Linked DNA regions of Homo sapiens: region 1 is linked to region 2. Evidence: promoter capture Hi-C in human tissues and cell types (Jung and others, 2019). All regions are on one chromosome and are shown on one strand. The core of a region is centred on a gene start or on the middle of the fragment in contact, and the rest is flanking DNA. Distances in the headings are between cores, read along the strand shown.

Evidence for each region. Contacts are between HindIII fragments. The study calls those that stand out against the background at their distance.
Region 1: a fragment that was not itself captured here is called in contact with the fragment with the promoter of WFDC6 in region 2 in 2 of the 25 tissues and cell types used here (dorsolateral prefrontal cortex and spleen).

Annotation. Positions count from the first base shown.
Region 1 is chr20:45,608,048-45,610,878 of GRCh38, reverse strand. It overlaps WFDC9 (WAP four-disulfide core domain 9), which reads left to right. Exons shown (of 5, transcript NM_147198.4): 3 at 640-788; 4 at 2,069-2,216; 5 at 2,739-2,831. The coding sequence starts at 698. The coding sequence ends at 2,769. Among named protein-coding and RNA genes, the nearest start is that of WFDC10A, 20 kb to the left of the region's middle. The HindIII fragment of the contact is 3,512 bases long and covers 1-2,831 here.
Region 2 is chr20:45,538,045-45,540,953 of GRCh38, reverse strand. WFDC6 (WAP four-disulfide core domain 6) reads left to right here and starts at 1,472. Exons shown (of 3, transcript NM_080827.2): 1 at 1,472-1,637; 2 at 2,860-2,909. The coding sequence starts at 1,547. It overlaps EPPIN-WFDC6 (EPPIN-WFDC6 readthrough), which reads left to right. Exons shown (of 5, transcript NM_001198986.2): 4 at 2,860-2,909. It overlaps EPPIN (epididymal peptidase inhibitor), which reads left to right. Exons shown (of 4, transcript NM_020398.4): 4 at 1-328. It overlaps LOC107987282 (a long non-coding RNA gene), which reads right to left. Exons shown (of 4, transcript XR_001754641.3): 3 at 2,275-2,418; 4 at 567-879. It also overlaps the pseudogene HSPD1P21. The HindIII fragment of the contact is 28,992 bases long and covers 1-2,909 here.

The DNA.
Region 1 (2,831 bases), core at 121-2,620, 70 kb before region 2:
GAGGCAGCATTCCGGCTTTCACGAGCAAAGCTTTTTACCAATAAAATTTCCTTCAAAATCTTCTCTACAATTCCTCCAACTTTGGACCATCTTAGTGCATTAAAGTTTTGAGTCCCCTAACAGTTCTTGGCCATCATCTTTTCTCAAGTCCTGTTATCTATCTGTAATTCCCTCTTAAATTGCTTTAGTGCCTTTTGTCTTAGGATCTTCACTAAAACTTCTTTACATCATCATGTTTCATATGCTTCAAAATAAAATATCAGGACACTTGATGTGTCCAATTTCATAAAAATAATGACTACAACATAAAAGTATAGACATATATTGATTATCTCTAGATGGTGGAATTGCTAATGCTTGTTTATTTCCTCTTTGTATTTTTAATTTTACATATTATATAATCTGAGGATTTATTGTTTTTAATCAGACAGGAGAAATTCATTTTAATAAGAAATAATTTTGCAAAGGAAGGGGTATGTAATATGAGATGAGAAGAAACCTGGGGAAGTCACTGGCTAGCCTGGGAGTTGGTTGGTATGCTACTGGGTACTAGAAAGGGAAAGAATAACATGATAGTCATAAGCACTTTACCCCTGTTGCTTACCCTGTTCTCCTCAATCCATTTTCTACGTCTAGCAGTATTGGGAAAAGACTTGCCTTCTGCCAGAACTTAACCCAAATACACACAGAGAGCACCATGAAGCCCTGGATTCTTCTACTCGTCATGTTCATCTCTGGAGTTGTGATGCTTCTGCCTGTGCTGGGAAGCTTCTGGAACAAAGATCCCTGTGGGTGGTGTGAAAAGGGACGGGGTGCTCTGCCCAGTCCTGGGATGTCTATTGTAGCTGATCCAGGGCCTGCATGTCAAGAATCAGGCTTTAAAGGATCTCTCCTTAAGTAGAGATATTCAAGCAAGATTAGGTTAGATATTCCCAATTCCTTTAAGTTTTCTCTTTCAGCTCTGAAAGCAACACTAGGTATGTGAAAAGGGAACGTATCTTTTGTCTATATTCCATCAGCTAGCAGGAAATAATATTTTCCAATATCAGACCAGTAGAGGAAAAACCAACACAGAGCTTCCCTCCAAGCCCATATTTTCAGAACCTTTGTGCCTCAGTTGGGTGAGCCTTTGATGAATGCCAAAAGGGTAATATTTAACACGTTAATTTAGTTGGAGGGGAAGAGTCTTTTAGAACATGAAAAATGGAAAAGACAAATAAAGGCTCCTTAGTGGGTCAAAGTTTGGGTTCATATGATAAGAAAATGTGGACAACAAAGACACTGAGCAGGAGGGTTGTGGGCCAGGGAAATAAAATTTATGGAGAGACTGACTTCTTAGGTGGCATCATCAGGGAAACAAATAGAAGGGGAGAAAAATGGCTGGGCACGGCGTCTCACACCTGTAATCCCAGCACTTTGGGAGGCTGAGGTGGGCGGATCACGAGGTCAGGGGTTCGAGACTGCCCAACCAACATGGTGAAACCCCGTCTCTATTAAGATACAAAAAATTAGCCAGGCATGGTGGTGTGCTCCTGTAATCCCAGCTACTCAGGAGGCTGAGGCAGGAGAATCGCTTGAACCCGGGAAGTGGAGGTTGCAGTGAGCTGAGATCATGCCGTTGCACTCCAGCCTGGGCGACAGGGCAAGACTCTGTCTCAAAAAAAAAAAAAAGAGAAGGGGAAAAAAAGTAAGTTTCTATTCTCCCTTGGCTCAGTTTCCCACTCTGCAAATTGGCTTTGGAAATTGGAGTTAGAGGATATTGCAGGCCCTGAAATCTAAGGTTACATGAGAATAAATTTGGTGGTTGGTGTCATATATGGTCAGGGTGTCCCAGGTCCTATCTTTAGAGTCTGAAATGCTGTAGGGACATGTAGATGGAGGAACACAGGCCATGCAAGGATGGTCTTGTGACAAGACACTGGTTATAATTTGAGGAAGGGATTTTCTTGGAAGGCAGAGAAATACTTTGTGGCTTGGAGCTCAAGTTTCAGAAGGGATTGTTAAGCTTAGAAAAGGTTTCTTGTCTGAGTTGTGAATAGACGGACCCTGCTAACTTCTTCCATCTCAGTTCTAGATATGATAAGAGAAACTGAGCAGTGCTGGGTACAGCCTCCATATAAGTACTGTGAGAAAAGGTGTACTAAAATAATGACTTGTGTACGTCCAAATCATACATGCTGCTGGACCTACTGTGGAAACATCTGCTTAGACAACGAGTGAGTTGGTTGGGGTGGGAAGGCTAGGGCCTGGGCATGCTTCATCACTGGTCCTTACCGACTATTCAAAAGACCGCAGCCACCCAAATCCTGGTTAAAGAAATAGGCAGCAAAAGACAATGTCCTCCTATCTCCAAACCTAGGCTGCTCCTCACTGCAAAATAAACCAAGACACCAACATGAGGTCCTCTACTTTTTTCTTCACTCTTATTCAGTTCCCTTTGCTTCCCTCAACATATCACCCAACAGTTCATACATCCCTCCTTTATCCAAAGTTCCAATTACTAACCCCTTAGTTGGGCGTCTCCATGGGCGCTCTACTCTCAGCCAGGCCCAAGGAGACCTGGTATCTATCTGTCTGTTCAGTTGGCAAACTTCTTGGGGGAAATTGCTTAAAAGTGGGTAACTTCTGATTTAGCAGAAGAATTGCTGTCCTTTTTCATCTGGGGCCTAGGATGCTATTAATTTTAGAAATGGATTTATCCCAGGATTCTTGACTTTTGACTAACTTTTCTCTTCTAGAGAGCCCCTTAAATCAATGCTAAACCCCTAGATTCTATTGGCCGATCACTACTGTGGGCTGAAGGATGACCATCTGGTCTAAGAAGAGTGCTG
Region 2 (2,909 bases), core at 223-2,722:
TATAAAAGAATGATTTATATTCCTTTGAGTGTATACCCAGTAATGGGATTGCTGGGTCAAATGGTATTTCTGGTTCTAGATCTTTCAGGAATTGGCACACTCTCTTCCACAATGGTTGAACCAATTTACATTCCCAACAGTGTAAAAGCATTCATGTTTCTCCACAGCTTTACCAGCATCTGTTGTTTCTGGACTTTTTAATAATCACCATTCTGACTGGCATGAGATGGTATCTCATTGTGGTTTTGATTTGCATTTCTCTGATGATCACTGGTGTTGAGCTTTTTTTCATATGTTTGTTGGCCGCATAAATGTCTTCTTTTGAGAAGTGTCTGTTCATGTCCTTTGCCCACTTTTCAATGGGGTTGTTTGTTTTTTTTCTTGTAAATTTGTTTAAGTTCCTTGTAGATTCTGGATATCAGACCACAAATTTTCTTAATCTGTCTCCAGTGATGGGAAAGCTAAGCTATTTGTCCACTGATTCCCAACGCCCACTGGATGCCAGGGATACTAAATCCCTCGCTCTTTCAAACTGTTATACTTGCAAGCTATACAAGCTCCCTGGGGGCCAGAGAAAACCCACAGCAGAAAATTAGGGACTGATGCTAGAGGTAGGAGGCTGTCAATGTGCATTGGCTATTATTCGGCCATAAAAAGGAATGAACTTCTCACTCACCACTGATGACATGCCTTGCTGCACACACACCCTGCTGCCACCCTGCAGAAATGCTTCCATTACCCACAGTCCTTTGCCAGATGGAACTGATGCCCAGGTAACTGGCTCCTCACCTCCTTCGGGCTTATACCAAGGATATAAAACTTGGTACAGATGCTCAAGCGTTAATGCTTCAGGGTGTGACTTTTAATCCAATGCTGTAGCTGTGACAACAGGGAAAAACGGAGAACAGAGTTGGAGAAGTCCCAAAGTAATGAAAGAAGTTATTTACTGTTGCAAAATCAAACGACTTAAAGGATAAATGTAACTGATCTTTACATACGAAAGAAGAGAGAGGGAAGTGAAGGGCGGGGAGAAAGAGACTCAGACAGACAGAGACTCCCTGAGAAAAAGACAGGCACAGAGTAAAAGACATACAGATGCACAGAAAAGAGAAGAAACAGAGTGAGAAAAATAAAACATAAGAATAGACATGTCAGGAGAAGAGTGAAATTAGAAAGAAGGAAGAGAGCTAGCATACTGTTAACCTGCAAACTCCCCCTGGGAAATGGAAGACTCTGGAGTTAAACCTCCCCTTCTGCTAAGGGAGCCTGGAAAGCCCAAGACAACATGTGCCCTCTTTCCCTGGTAGACCAGAAAGCCTCAGATTGCTGAGGATTAGGAGCCACCTATCCCCCAGTGTAGGTACCAGGTAGTCCCACTGATGGCCTCAGGGATCTGGTGTTCCTGATCGGGGAGTCTGGCTGGCTTGTCTCCAGGGCTGTCTCTTAAGGTGCTGGGCCACACCGGGGCAGGCAAAGTGCAGATGTAGGAGCTGCTGAGGAGCAGTTCTTAGTTTTGGTGCCATCAACCAGGCCAGTACTTCCTAAAATGGGACTCTCAGGACTTCTGCCAATCCTGGTACCATTCATCCTTTTGGGGGACATCCAGGAACCTGGGCACGCTGAAGGCATCCTTGGCAGTAAGTATTGGGAACTCCGTCCTTGCAATGGGGAAAGGAAACTCAGTGGGGAGGAAGGAACAAAGAATAATTTTGCAGCTGAGAAATTATTTTCTCCACCTCTGCCTGGAATTCCAGGTGGGAAAGAGGGGAGCTATTTGAAGTCTCTTGGTAAGAGACTCCCTTGGTGAATACAGGCATCCAAATCTGTGGCAAGTGACTCCTTGCTGCCATTCCAAAGAGTTCTTCCTGGAGGTGCCTGGACCTAGAGCTCATGAAATGAACTAAGAAGGAGTAGTAAGCCCAAGGAAGTCTCCCACAAGAAAAACAGGCTGCTCCCCACAACACCACCTGTGTCAACTTCCAAATGTTCTCATTGCAGCCCCCACACCCATACCCACAGAGGACCCTGGTCTTTGGGTTAAAGAATGGTCTCCAGAAGTCCCTTGGAATGCTGAAATGTGAAGACTCACAATTAGCAGCTAACTGTACTGGGCACTGAAAATTAGTGGTTGAAAGTGAGCACTCAGGAGCCACACATTGTAGGTTCAAACCTGGCTCCACCCCTGAGTAGCTGTGTGATCTTGGGCAAATTCACATAATCTCCTTATGCTTCCAATTCTTCTGTTTACAAAATGTGAATATTAAGAGTACTTACCCATAGATTTGTAATGAGGATTAAGGAGAAAAGGCAGCTCACAGTAAGTGCTTCATCCATATTACTCATTGTTACGTTACATTGCCCCAGGCAGTTTGACGATGGCTTGTCAAACTGTGTTGCTGGTTAGTCTTCAAAGCAACCCTATGGGCAAATGAGGAAATCAAGGCTCAGAGAGAGTGCCTGGCACACCAAGCGTCTCACAGAATTCAAAAGCCCAGCTATCTGATGCCAGAAATGTTAATCTCAATCATCGAGAGCCACAGCACCTCCTGGGGGAGCAACCAAGCACAGCAAGGCTGAGTGACCAGAACAGTCTTAGAGGAATGCGTCTTTCTCTCAGGAATCTCATAGATGGTGCGGGTAGGGGGTAGGGGTTGGTTTAGGCATCCGATGGTGAGTTGTTATGGGGTTGGGGATGTGAGCAGTGTTGTGAAATTCCTGAGCCCCCTGAGGGCCACTACCTTCTGGGGATAGGTGAAGTGGAAACAAAGTTCTCTAACTCTGGAGGGGTGCCCTGGTCTCGGGGAGGGGGAGCACTGGCTCCTTTAAGGCCTTGAGGGAATATATCTTCCCCTCCCTTAGAGCCGTGTCCCAAAATCAAAGTGGAATGCGAAGTGGAAGAAATAGACCAG